Linked DNA regions of Homo sapiens: region 2 is linked to region 1. Evidence: promoter capture Hi-C in 16 types of primary human blood cells and fetal thymus (Javierre and others, 2016). All regions are on one chromosome and are shown on one strand. Each heading gives the region's core, a stretch centred on a gene start or on the middle of the fragment in contact. The rest is flanking DNA. Distances are from core to core; before and after follow the strand shown. Region 1 holds the start of ZNF229 (zinc finger protein 229). Region 2 overlaps ZNF227 (zinc finger protein 227).

Region 1 (7,013 bases), core at 1,550-4,049:
TTTTCTCCATGAAACTGACACCCTACCTACAGTCTATTTTTCTTGTTGACCATCTTTCTCCACCCACAAGAATGTGAACTCTATGAGGGCCAGTATTTCAGTTGGCACCTGGCACACAGCAGGTGCTCAATAAATATTTAAATGGGAGAACGGGAGTAACCTGAACTCAGCTTGCTGATATGGATCCTTGGGTCCTCTTGATGTCATCTTCACAGCAGAAGTGATTTTCTTCTCCAGTTCATGGACTTAGTAATTTGGGTGCTAAGGACTATGCTGGCTGTGTTGGGACCCAAGAGTGAACAGGGCAGACAACGACTCTGTGCTCATGCAGCTGCTAACATTCTAGGTGGAAATCAGCAGCCATAATGAATATCTACTGTGTTCCATGTGCTTAGGATACATTTCTGGACTGCATGGAGCTCACATTGGGGGAGAAAGAGGGTGACAGAAAGAGTTGGTACAAAGGCAGTGGGACAAAGAAGTAATGGGAATAAGAGATAATTGCAGAGGTAGAAATAACAAAACTAAAAGAATAATTCCATGTAGGGATGAAGAGGAGGAGAAATAAATATGATTCTGAGGTTGAAGTCTGAGGAAAACAGGTAAATTATGAAGTTATGATAAAATAATAAGATAGCAAAAGGGAAAGCAGGGTTTTGAAAATTGCAGCTCTAGTTTCTCAAAACTGGAGTTATCAAAAGGTTTAGGTTCGAATTCTGGTTCAGCCACTTTGTAGTTATATTAACACCACAGGAGAGACTTAACCTTTTGAATGAGTCTGTACTTCTGTCAAATAAAGATAATCCTTACTTGCAAAACTAAAATAATTTAAGTTTTTCTCTCTTTCACACACACATGCCTATGTGAATAAACTTCAAAGCCCAGTACGTGGTACACAGAAAATCATCAATATACTATTACCATTGACCCAACCCAGCATTAACCTAGGAATACAGGAACTCATGCATTTAGTAAATGTACATTCAGTGTCTAACAACATCTTAGGAGAATAAACACTAGACATACAGCAGTAAATTAAGATGGAAAAGGTAATTGTTCTCATGGTGCTTACTTTCGGGTGGGTTAATCTCTCTACAAATTAGGTGACCTTTGGTTGCAAAAAGGGCTATGAAGAAAATAAAGCAAACATGATAGATTCCTGTTTTCCAACAAGAATGTAGGTGCTATCAGGTGAACATATGTGGCAGCTGTGGAAAGAGCAACATTAAATCAGGTGGTCAGGGACAGTCTCTAAGAGCTGCCTGACAAATAAATCAGCTGTGAAAAAAGCTGGGATGAGACAAGTCCAGAAGGAAGCATAAGCGCAAAGACCTGGTTTCTGTTTAGAAGGTCTCCTGGCCAGGTCTTACCTGTTAAGTTTTTTTAACTTTTTAAACCTTAGCAACTCATCTGTGACATGGGGATAATAGCTAACATACAAACTTGCTCAGAAAATTCAATAGAAATACATTCATTTATTCAAATATTTATTGGCAAGCCTGGCACTGTCCTAGACACCATGGATAAATAATACCTGGCATATAGTAAGCACTCAGTTAATATACACCATCACAGTTACTCTAATTATTTCTACCCTGCGTTTCTTCAGCATGGCGCTGAAACAGTGTAAGCCTTTACTGACCCAGTGACACACTACTAGGAGCCAAGAAGAGAATACACTAAATAAAGACACTGGGAAATTCCTCAAACCTCCCCCATTTCTAGGGGAAGGCAGGTGTGGCTAAGGGGTCTGAATGAACATTTGTGATATCAATGGGATGAAGAATGAGGTCACCAAGAGACCTGGCATTGCCACAAAAGAGAACCAAAGTTCACTCACCTGGAGCTCTAGTGTCAAGAGATGTGGGGTTATTTCTCCTTCTTTTATACAATTATCTCCGAGAAACGAACAATTCCAAGAAGGAAGCCTGTGAAAGAAAAATGAACAGCAGGATAACATGATTTAATCCCAATTCCCACCACGCCACAGGGGGAAATCTCTCAGTGCCAGCTGGATGTAATCTACCCCTTCCTGTAATCTACCCTCGCTACTTGCTTCAGGAGCCGAGGAAAAGAACCTCTCTTCCTACAGGACTCAGAGTACAAGGGACACGCCATTCCTGATGCCCAAAGAAACCGTCTACAAGCCTACTTTCACTGCCCCTTTCAGGAGACAAGGAGAATCAAGACAAAATCTCAAGATTTTAATCCAGAGCTGACTGTCACATGCTGTGGGACACTTACAAGTGAAATTCTGCCTGTGTGTGCTTAGGCGGCTACAAAAAGCAGAGCCAGCAACGATACAGCAAACCAACTCCTAGGACTTGCACAGCGCTTAATACATTTCAAAGGATAAAATTAGAACACAGGGAATCAACTTCCTGTTTACAGAAATGACTTCGCAGAAAACTCTGAAATTACTCCACAAGTGGGTGGGCGGCTACCCTGAGAAAATTCATGTCATCGATCCGCAACTGACACAGTGGAGTCTCCCGCACTGCAGATCTCATCTCAAAGCCAGAGCTGGCCTCAAACTGCTTTTCCAAGCCTGGACTGCGAGGGCTGCCGACCCGGGCCCACCCCGCACAGGCGCTCAGAATGTTCGATACGTGCGCCTCCTTACACCCCTGCCTCACCAGGCCGAGCTCATGGAAATCCGTGGGCTTCGACCCTCCGCCGCACGTTGTCCCTTCACACTGGTCCTATAGAGCCGATCCTAATTCCCATGGCCTGACAGTACAACCGCATGGAGATGCACGTCTCTAAGACGCCTCACCACTGCCTAAGAAGCAATCAAGGTGACGCGCCCACCGGAAACGGAAGTAGTCGACTCGAGGTGTGGGACTACCTTTCCCAGAACCCTCCGCAGCGCAGTCCGATCCTAGGGGCGATGGTGTCGTAAATGCGCGTCCACCTCGAGTCACGCCCACTGCGAGGCGGCGGGAGGCGGCATGCAAGGTGTTTCTGAGTTGAAAAGAATGTCTTTACTCAGTACTAACATATTCGCGTTGTAGCAAACCTGACTATATTCTCAAACAAGCCCATCATCCCATCACCAGGGATATAAAGCATTATTGATTTTCTGGTGTAAAAGCCAACTAAATATTTATTTCAAAAGTAGTTCATATTACATGTAAAGAATGGTTTAAAAAAAATTCTTACTTAATCCCTGGTTTATGTGAGTAAATATGAATTCTTAAGAATCCCATTTCCCAAATGGCATCATAATATTTTGTAATCATTTCTTGCCACAGGTCATATATCGTGGATAGTTCTGTATGTCACAAAAGACGTAGAGATACATAGAGATAATAAAAAAACACAAATTATTTGCAATACTTGCCTAGCATTCTTTAGTTTTTAGGGAAGTTACCCCTTTGTCCTGCATTGAACTTACACTTCTAATTTTATGATATCAAAACTACACACAATCACTTTCTTTAATATTTTCCCAATTTGATGGACTAAATATCCTGTCTTATTTTCCCAATTTGACAGAGTAAATATGCTTATTACCGATTGCATTTCATTGTCATCTTTTATTGTCATACACTCTCTGTGTATGAATGATATCGCTTCTAAGTGATGAATTGCTCCCCCAGTTTCAACATTTATAAAGTAGTTTAGAAAAAAAAAAAAACAAAAAACTTCATCTGACAAGGTATATCAGTCTTTTCATTTGTGGCTTCTTTTTTTTCTCCAGTATGACCAAAAAGACATTCCTTAGCCTGATTCCCAATAAGTGCATATCTATATTCATTTCAGGCTCTTTCATTTTTCTTTTGAATCACCGCGTGATTCATTTAAGTGTATGATATGAAAGGAAGATGGAGTTTCCTGTTTCACCAAAGGATTGTCTACTTTTCTTAACAAAATTTACATAAATATTAATTCTTTCCTTTCTGATTTAAACGGCATCCTAATCACTTACTACATTACTATATATATAATGAAATATTTTCTGGGATACAAGTGTGTTCTGAAGATAGAGATTGCTTTTTCTGTGCCATGATGAAAGGTTTCAGTTACAGTGATAACTCATTTCCTTATCTCTCCCTCCTTGTTGTGTTTCAAAAATTTCATCCTAGAAGTTCTAGAACTCTCTCTTATAAACAGATTATCGAATTGTTTTGATAAATTCTAAAAAATTGCCAATTGACTCCAAAGCATCCAAGCCCTTCAGATATTTGGTTCCAAACCCACCCCTCTTTGCTTGGGTAGACACAGTCCTACTTCCCATCCTGTGTCCTCCAGTTTTACAAATGTCTGAATTTGCTGCTATTGTTCTTCCCTCTGTAAGTCCATCCTTTCCTGTACTATTAAAATCTTACTCCATATTTAAGACACAACTTGAATATAATTTCCTCTATCGAGTGTTTTTGAACTCTATATCATAATTCAATGAACAGATCAGTCTGTGATTGGGAGAATTTCATGCGAGTGTAGTGGATGTTAAATACCACTCTCAGAACATTCTCATTTCCCCGAGAAATCAATAAATTATATTACTCTGGGATCCAGCAACACATGGTTTAAATTGCTGGTTACCACCTTTCACATGGCCTCCATGGTCAGATCTCTAAGTCATCAAAATAATTGACTCTTCTTTTTCTTTATTTTCTTTATTTACCTTTCATGGCTCTGGCACATGGGAAGCACTTAAGCAATTCAATCAAGTGTCTTGGCCGGGCACGGTGGCTCATGCCTGTAATCAGAGCACTTTGGGAGGCCGAGGCAGGCAGATCACGAGGTCAGGAGATCGAGACCATCCTGGCTAACACGGTGAAACCCCATCTCTACTAAAAATACAAAAAAGAAAACAAAAAAAATTAGCCGGGCATGGTGGGGGGTGCCTGTAGTCACAGCTAGTCAGGAGGCTGAGGCAGGAGAATAGTATGAACCCGGGAGAAGGAGCTTGCAGTGAGCCGAGATCAAACCACTGCACTCTAGCCTGGGCGACAGCGCAAGACTCCATCTCAAAAAATAATAATAATAAAATAAACATAAAAATAATTATTTTAAAAAGGTGTCTTGACCTGGAAGCTAAGAGCCAACCTGCACAAAGTGTGGGTAGATGAATCCATTCCAAGGCCCAAGGTAAATATTCAGCCTTCATCCTACCTCATACAAACTGCAAAACACTGTAGAAACCGTGTGTCAACTGAATTTGAAACTGCTGTAATTTCCGACTCCCTAACAGTTTTGTTATTGTTAAGAAAAAATAACCCAATTTTAAGTAGGCAAGGTATTTCCGTAGACATATCTTAAACGAAAATAAACAAATAGGCAAGAGACACATGAAATGACTCTCCACATCCTCAGTCATTAGGGAAATGGAAGTCAAAACAATGGTGCTACTTCACACTCACTAGAATGGTCAGGATTGAAAAGCAGAAAATAGGCTGGGCACAGTGGCTCACGCCTGCATCCCAGAACTTTGGGAGGCTGAGGTGGGCGGATCACCTGAGGTCTGGAGTTCGAGACCAGTCTAGCTAACATGGTAAAGCCCCTTTTCTACTAAAAATACAAAAAATTAGCTGGGTGTGGTAGCATGCATCCGTAATCCCAGCTATTCGGGAGGCAGAGGTTGCAGTGAGCCGAGATCGCACCACCGCACTCCAGCTTGGGCAACAAGAGTGAAACTAAATCACACACACACACAAAAAAAAAACAGAAAATAAAAAATGCTGACGATCATGTAAAGAAGCTGTAACATTCCGGCACTGCTGGTAGGAATTTCAAAATCTACAGCCATATTGGAAAATAATCTGGAAGATCCTCAACATGTTAAACATCATAGAAGTCTCCAAATGATGCAGCAATTCCACACCTAGGTATGAACCAAGAGAAAACATTTGTCCAAACTAAATATTGTACAGGAGTGTTCATAGCAGCATTATTCAAAGAAGTAGAAATCCATCACCTTAAACGGGTGAATCTTATCCAGGGCATCCACGTGGAGACAGGGGCAGACACAGGGAAAGAGAATGAGGAAATGTCTGAAATGGAGGCCGAAAGAGAGACAATGAGAAGGCCTGTGAATGGAAGAAACCGAGCGCAGGGAAAACAGTCATACGTATACATCAGAGATCTGAGAACGCGGGATCATACCGACAGTGTCACTGCCAGGAAAGGGGGTCAAGCTAGGGATGTCCCCGGTGGCGTCGCCCGCAGAAACACGGACAGGTTTGGGGTTCACGCTGGCACGGGCGCCAGCAGCCACGTCAGCAGGCAGGAGGGTCCCACTGCACAGCTGAGGGGTGATGATAGCCCAGGTGGTGATGTCGGCCATCAGAGGGGCCTCTCCTGCCAGCAAATGTGTGACAGTAGCAAGTAAAAGGACAGGTCTTTGTGTGAGGCCGGAATGCGGGAAGGGCTCTTCTGTGGCTGAGTGTGGAGTCCTCAGCAGGAATGTGGATAAATGGCCAGGTAACTGCATCACGTTGGCTAGGAGGATGGCAAGGACTTCGAGCTGAATGATGATAACGGGGAGTGACTGTGAGACCCTGCGAGGCTCTGAGTGTAAAAGAAGATGGGTGCGGGGCCCCAGGGGAGTATGTGGGAGCCACTGCTGTGTAGATGGAGGTCGTTGGGGAAGAATCTGGTGAGCTCTGTGAATTTCCAGGGGTCTCCTGTGTGCTGGGGGCTGACTCTTGCAGAAAACTGGGGATGGTTGGAGAGTAGCTGGGAGACAGGAAAGAGACCCTAAGGAATGGCGGTACAAAGGTCAGAGAGGAGCAGGAGGAGCACGGTGAGGTCTGTGAGTTTCCAGGTGAGTCCTGTGTGTTAGGGGCTGGCCCCAGGAGAAATCTGGGGATTGTTGGAGAGGAGCAGGGGGATGCTGGAGAGTCTCTGAGGGATGGGGATGCAGAGATGGGAGACAGAGGTGAGGAGCACAGGGAGGTCTGTGGGTTGCTAGGTGATGCCCTGAGCATGAGAGGCTGACTCCAAGAGAAATCTGCAGATGGCTGGAGGGGAGCTGGGAGACACAGGAGAGCATCTGAGGGCTGCAG
Region 2 (7,013 bases), core at 1,378-3,877, 230 kb before region 1:
AACCTATCATCCCCAAACCATCTCCCCCGCCCCCATCCGTGGAAAAATTATCTTCCGTGAAACTGGTCCCTGGTGCCAAAAAGGCTGCAGATGGTTGTCTTAAAGCATACGCCAGACATCAGGTCAGTTTTTTTTTTTTTTTTGAAACGGAGTCTCGCCTGTCGCCCAGACCGGAGTGCAGTGGCGCCATCTCGGTTCACTGCAGCCTCTGCCTCCCGGGTTCAAGCGATTCTCCTGCCTCAGCCTCCCGAGTAGCTGAGGTCAGTTTTTTTTTTATTTTCTACCATGACCTCTGAAACTGAAGCTGTAATTTGCCATTTGCTCAGTACAGTATATCTTTTTTTTGTTCTTTTTCTTTCAAACTTTTTTGTCATTATGTTTTCGTAGTGTCTTTTAGAATATATATGTATAATTTTTTTTTTTTTAGTGCAGTCTGGGATAATTTGCTTTTACTATCTGTGTGTATATTTTGTTCTCCTTTCTTGTCTTTTTTTGTTCAGTTTATTCCCTTTTATTTGTGCTCAACTGGTCTGGAGTTTATATGGTTTTGTGTCATTCTTCTAACTTTAAAAATATTCTCTTTCTTAGCAAATACTAAACTTAATCAGCATGTGTTCTTATTCTGAAGAATATTGAGACTAAAAAAAATCTGAAAGAAGATGGGGCCAGGTGCGGTGGCTCATGCCTGTAATCCCAGCACTTGGGGAGGCCTAGGCGGGTGGATCACCTGAAGTCAGGAGTTTGAGACCAGCCTGGCCAGCATGATGAAACCCCGTCTGTACTAAAAACACAAAAATTAGCCAGACGTGGTGGTGCGTACCTGTAATCCCAGCTACTCAGGAGGCTGAGGTGGGAGAATCGCTTGAACCTGGGAGGCAGAGGTTGCAGTGAGCTGAGATTGTGCCATTGCACTCCAGCCTGGGTGACAAGAGCGAAACTCTCTCTCTAAAAAAAAAAAAAAAAAAAAAGATGTACCTTTAAAAAAAAAAAAAAAAAAGCTATGTTTTTATAGGTCTACTTTTTATTATAACCACCCTCAAAATTTGTCATTATAGTTCTTTGGCTTTTTTTAAACAAAGATTATTATATTACCAATATAGTCACAAATGTTTTCTTACCATTGCTTTTTGCAGTCCATCTTTTAGGGTTCACATGGTTATAAATTCTCTTCATTTTTTTTTTCAGCTAAAATATTGTTTCTTTCTCATGTAAATAATCATCTAGTTGAACATAGAATTCAGGTTGACAGTTTCTTTATTTTGGAGGTAATATTCATTTGTTTTAAATCTCCATTCTGTTACCCTATTTCTGTCAATCTAATTGTTATTTCTTTTAGGTCAACTATATTTTCTTTCTAGGAGCTTTAAGGTTGTTGTTTCCAGTTCTTTATGTTCGTTTAGTCTTTTGCATTTCTGAGTTTTATTGTGATTTGTTTAGGGTATGTTTATTTTTATTTATACTGTTTAGAATTTCTATATGCGAACTTGTATCTTTTACCAATTGTGTGAAATTCTCAGCAATTGCATCTTGAAATTAAAACCTCTCAGTCATTCCCTCCATCCTGCCTTCTCTTCTCCCATTCCTGTTAGACAAATACGGAAGCCTCTCAATTTATCTTTCATGTTTCTTGATTTTTCGTTTGTGCTTTATCTTTCTCTTTGCTGTGTGTTTTTCTCTGTGCACATAAAATAAAAGAGATGTACCAATGATCGTTTCCAGGCTTCATGAAGTAAATTGACCCAGAATGATACGTTTTAGAAAACTGATAACAGTGTCAGTAAAATATTACTAGCTGGGCAACAAATTACTAAAAAGAAACCTTAAGTCAGATTTCGGCTTTTCAGAAATTAAAGGTGACTTTCATAGGAGAGCAATATTTGCAAGGCAAGTGTGTGATGCAAAGTATCATCTGCTTGTTTTTTTTTTTTTTTTTTTTTTGAGACAGAGTCTCACTGTGTCATCCAGGTTGGAGTTCATTGGCGTGATCTTGGCTCACTATAACCTCCACCTTCCAGGTTCTAGCAATTCTCATGCCTCAGCCTCCCAAGTAGCTGGGATTACAGACCCGCACCACCACGCCTGGCTGATTTTTTTTATTTTTGGTAGAGATGAGGTTTTGCCGTGTTGGCCAGGCTGGTCTCAAACTTCTGACCTTATGTGATCCTCCCTCCTTGGCCTCCTAAAGTGCTGGGATTACAAGCATGAGCCACTGTGCCAGGCCTGGCTAAACAGCAAGAAGCCATGAAGAAGCTTTTTTGTAACTATAAGAGAAAGGGACTCCTGGTTCTTAGAACTCTCCATCTACTTATTTAATCCTTGGAAAAACCCTATGAGGGAGGTACGATTTATGATTCTTACCATATCCTCATTGTACACATAACAGAAGTGAGGCACAGAGAGGGTTTTTAATATCCCCAAGGTTACACAGCTGGTAAGTATCATTTCTAGGAATTAAACCCAGATACTTGACTTGAGAGCCCTCATATGTTGTTACATTGCCTCTCGTTTCCTGCTGTCTCTGCCATCAGAAATCCTTGTAGCAAGGATGCTGCACTTGTGCAGACTGTTCACTGCCCAATGGCACTGAACTATCATGCCATTTAGTAGCTGGAATACAGTCCATGTTCTGCTTACCAAGCTGTATGTGGCTATACCTGTCTGAATGTAGGGCTATTTCTCTAATTTCCTCATATGTACACATGGGCTAACAGCAGGCTTGTGTCTCATGGCGTCTTTGGTCTCCCCCAGTTATGCCATCTCAGAACTATGACCTTCCCCAGAAGAAGCAGGAGAAAATGACCAAGTTTCAGGTACGTAAAGGATTCCTTGCTGTCTTTTAAAATGTGATTTATTTCTCAAAGATAACAGATTTATTTTTTCTCTTTCTTGGAAAGGTTAGTGGGAAACAGATATTCAGGACATGTGGTATGCTGACATGTATGTGTTTTTTTGTTTTAGTTTATCACCTTTACTATTTTACAAAACAGTGTTTGAAAAAATAATAGAAGCTTTAATCAGAAATAATCTATGCTACTACCCTGCTTATGAACTAGCTTTTTTCATTTTCCCATGTTCCTTTTTCATACACATTTTGCAATACTTGAGTAGATGAAATTTTCAATTGTGCATTCTCCACTTAATTGCATCACCTGCATTGTAAGTGAGTACATCATATGCCATTGAATTGCAGTGCCCTTAAAAGACAACAAAAACTATTTCTTATTTAGCCTTTCAGAAATTCAGAAATTTTAAGAATTTTACTACTTTAAAGTAAATCCAGTGACTTTTTTCCCTACATATAAAAACAATTCCTTCAAAAGAAATTCTGGTGGAATTCAATATTATTTGTCCTTAAAGTTTTAGGAACTCTGCATTGAAGAGGTTTATGTCTCAGTTTCATGTCAGTTCCCTCAGGTGTTTTGTAAACAGAACATCTAAAGAATGACATGGTGTAATTTTATTAGATGCTTTCAGAGAAGAAGAGCTATATATTTTTCCCGTTTATGTTTTTATCACTCATTTATTTCTTGTATGAATTTATTTCATCAAAGTAACTACATGTACGTAAGGTCTAGTAGTACTTAGATGTCTTGCTAGCCCTTTCCATCTGTCATTGCATTTTTCAGATGTGAGGATGGAGATGATTTATTTGCATTTTAAATATGAAGAAACAGGTTATGGGAACATTTTATAACTGCCCCAAATTTCCCAGGTAGCTGACTCATTGGACACTGAAGCTTCCAACTATTAGGAATATCTGGCATTCTATTTTCATGTAAAGGCAGACAGAACAAAAGAGTTTTCCATTCACAGAGATGAGCACATATGATAGAAGTACCTGATGTTACCTTTTTATTCTTTTGAGACAGAGTTTAATTCTTGTCACCCAGGCCGGAGTGCAATGGCATGTTCTTAGCTCACTGCAACCTCTGCCTCCCAGGTTCAAGCGATTCTCCTGCCTCAGCCTCCCAAGTAGCTGGGATTACAGGCATGTACCAGCACGCCTGGCTAATTTTGTATTTTTATTAGAGACGGGGTTTCACCACGTTGGCCAGGCTGGTCTTCAACTCCTGACCTCAGATGATCCACCCACTTCGGCCTCCCAAAGTGCTGGGATTATAGGCGTGAACCAGTGCACCTGGCCCTGATATTACCTTTTGGAGGATAGACCCCAACAATGCCCCTCATCCAGTTTCCATCTCAATTACTGTCTCTTCTCTAGTTTTGTCTCTTAGTCATTCCATGAACGTAGATGCTCAAGCACAGTTTTTATGTAAGTGTTTTAAATTTCCCTACAGCAAAAGCTATCAGGTATGATGGTAAGAGACAGCAGCAAACCGGTGGCATATACTTAAACATTAGGTAAAGGTCTAATAGCTTAAATTCCTGTTAAGATTAGTAATATAGAGAAAATTCCAACTGGAATATGAGCAAAAGAAATGAATAGGAGTGTCATAAAGAAAAGAAATTTATGAAAAAAACTTCACTAATAATTTAAATGTGTGAAAATGTTAATAAAATAGCTTTCTATTTATATATTGGTTTTACTTATATTGTCAATGACTTTTTTAGAAAAAGGAACTGAGTCCTATTTAGCCGGGGTCTAGAGATTCAGGAATGCTTGTACTGTTGCATGAAGAGTGAACTGGGAAAATCTTTGGAGAGGAAAATCTGCCATTACGCTTTCAAAACTTTTTTTTTTGGATGTTGATTTTCTTTTATTTATTTATTTATTTATTTATTTATTATTATTATACTTTAAGTTTTAGGGTACATGTGCACAATGTGCAGGTTTGTTACATATGTATACATGTGCCATGTTGGTGTGCTGCACCCATTAACTCGTCATTTAGCATTAGGTATATCTCCTAATGCTATCCCTCCCCACTCCCCCCACCCCACAACAGTCCCTGGAGTGTGATGTTCCCCTTCCTGTGTCCATGTGTTCTCATTGTTCAATTCCCACCTATGAGTGAGAACATGCAGCGTTTGGTTTTTTGTCCTTGCGATAGTTTGCTGAGAATGATGGTTTCCAGTTTCATCCATGTCCCTACAAAGGACATGAACTCATCCTTTTTTATGGCTGCATAGTATTCCATGGTGTATATGTGCCACATTTTCTTAATCCATCTATCGTTGTTGGACATTTGGGTTGGTTCCAAGTCTTTGCTATTGTGAATAGTGCCAGAATTAACATATGTGTGCATGTGTCTTTATAGCAGCATGATTTATAATCCTTTGGGTATATACCCAGTAATGGGATGGCTGGGTCAAATGGTATTTCTAGTTCTAGATCCCTGAGGAATTGCCACACTGACTTCCACAATGGTTGAACTAGTTTACAGTCCCACCAACAGTGTAAAAGTGTTGCTATTTCTCCACATCCTCTCCAGCACCTGTTGTTTCCTTTTTTTTTTTAACTTTAAAAAAATGTTAATAGAAAAAAAATGCCCAGATAAAGATACCGATCACAGTATCCACATCTATACAATGATTGATCCAGCTGTGGCCCTCCCCTCTCACCCAGCCCCATGTGGCTTCCTTTGAAACTGCAGACTGGAGATGACAGTGGTGAATTCTAGTCCTACTCACTGGATATCAGCATTTCTTTTTTTTAAAATTTTATTATTATTAAACTAAGTTTTAGGGTACATGTGCACAATGTGCAGGTTAGTTACATATGTATACATGTGCCATGCTGGTGTGCTGCACCCATTAACTCGTCATTTAGCATTAGGTATATCTGCTAATGCTATCCCTCCCGCCTCCCCCAACCCCACAACAGTCCCCAGAGTGTGATGTTCCCCTTCCTGTGTCCATGTGTTCTCATTGTTCAGTTCCCACCTATGAGTGAGAACATGTGGTGTTTGGTTTTTCGTCCTTGCGATAGTACTGAGAATGATGATTTCCAATTTCATCCATGTCCCTACAAAGGACATGAACTCATCCTTTTTTATGGCTGCATAGTATTCCATGGTGTATATGTGCCACATTTTCTTAATCCAGTCTATCATTGTTGGACATTTGGGTTGGTTCCAAGTCTTTGCTATTGTGAATAGTGCTGCAATAAACATACGTGTGCATGTGTCTTTATAGCAGCATGATTTATAATCCGTTGGGTATACACCCAGTAGCCATAAAAAATGATGAGTTCATGTCCTTTGTAGGGACATGAACATACATGTGCATGTGTCTTCATAGCAGCATGATTTATAGTCCTTTGGGTATATACCCAGTAATGGGATGGCTGGGTCAAATGGTATTTCTAGTTCTAGATCCCTGAGGAATCGCCACACTGACTTCCACAATGGTTGAACTAGTTTACAGTCGCACCAGCAGTGTAAAAGTGTTCCTGTTTCTCCACATCCTCTCCAGCACCTGTTGTTTCCTGACTTTTTAATGGTTGCCATTCTAACTGGTGTGAGATGGTATCTCATTGTGGTTTTGATTTGCATTTCCCTGATGGCCAGTGATGGTGAGCATTTTTTCATGTGGTTTTTGGCTGCATAAATGTTTTCTTTTGAGAAGTGTCTGTTCATGTCCTTCGCCCACTTTTTGATGGGGTTGTTTGCTTTTTTCTTGTAAATTTGTTTGAGTTCATTGTAGATTCTGGATATTAGCCCTTTGTCAGATGAGTAGGTTGCAAAAATTTTCTCCCATTTTGTAGGTTGCCTGTCCACTCTGATGGTAGTTTCTTTTGCTGTGCAGAAGCTCTTTAGTTTAATTAGATCCCATTTGTCAATTTTGGCTTTTGTTGCCATTGCTTTTAGTGTTTTAGACATGAAGTCCTTGCCCATGCCTATGTCCTGAATGGTAATGCCTAGGTTTTCTTCTAGGGTTTTTATGGTTTTAGGTCTAATGTTTAAGTCTTTAATCCATCTTGAATTAATTTTTGTATAAAGTGTAAGGAAGGGATCCAGTTTCAGCTTTCTACATATGGCTAACCAGTTTTCCCAGCATCATTTATTAAATAGGGAATCCTTTCCCCATTGCTTGTTTTTCTCAGGTTTGTC

Evidence for each region. The method cuts DNA at HindIII sites, captures the fragments that hold promoters and counts their contacts. A CHiCAGO score of 5 or more calls a contact.
Region 2: a contact is called between a fragment that was not itself captured here and the fragment with the promoter of ZNF229 in region 1, in 4 of 17 cell types (erythroblasts, total B cells, fetal thymus and 1 more). The highest score is 6.9, in erythroblasts.

Annotation. Positions count from the first base shown.
Region 1 is chr19:44,445,673-44,452,685 of GRCh38, forward strand. It overlaps ZNF229 (zinc finger protein 229), which reads right to left and starts at 2,800. Exons shown (of 6, transcript NM_014518.4): 1 at 2,637-2,800; 2 at 1,841-1,928. The HindIII fragment of the contact is 11,359 bases long and covers 1-7,013 here.
Region 2 is chr19:44,215,043-44,222,055 of GRCh38, forward strand. It overlaps ZNF227 (zinc finger protein 227), which reads left to right. Exons shown (of 6, transcript NM_182490.3): 3 at 2,749-2,810. The coding sequence starts at 2,751. Among named protein-coding and RNA genes, the nearest start is that of ZNF227, 6.0 kb to the left of the region's middle. The HindIII fragment of the contact is 758 bases long and covers 2,249-3,006 here.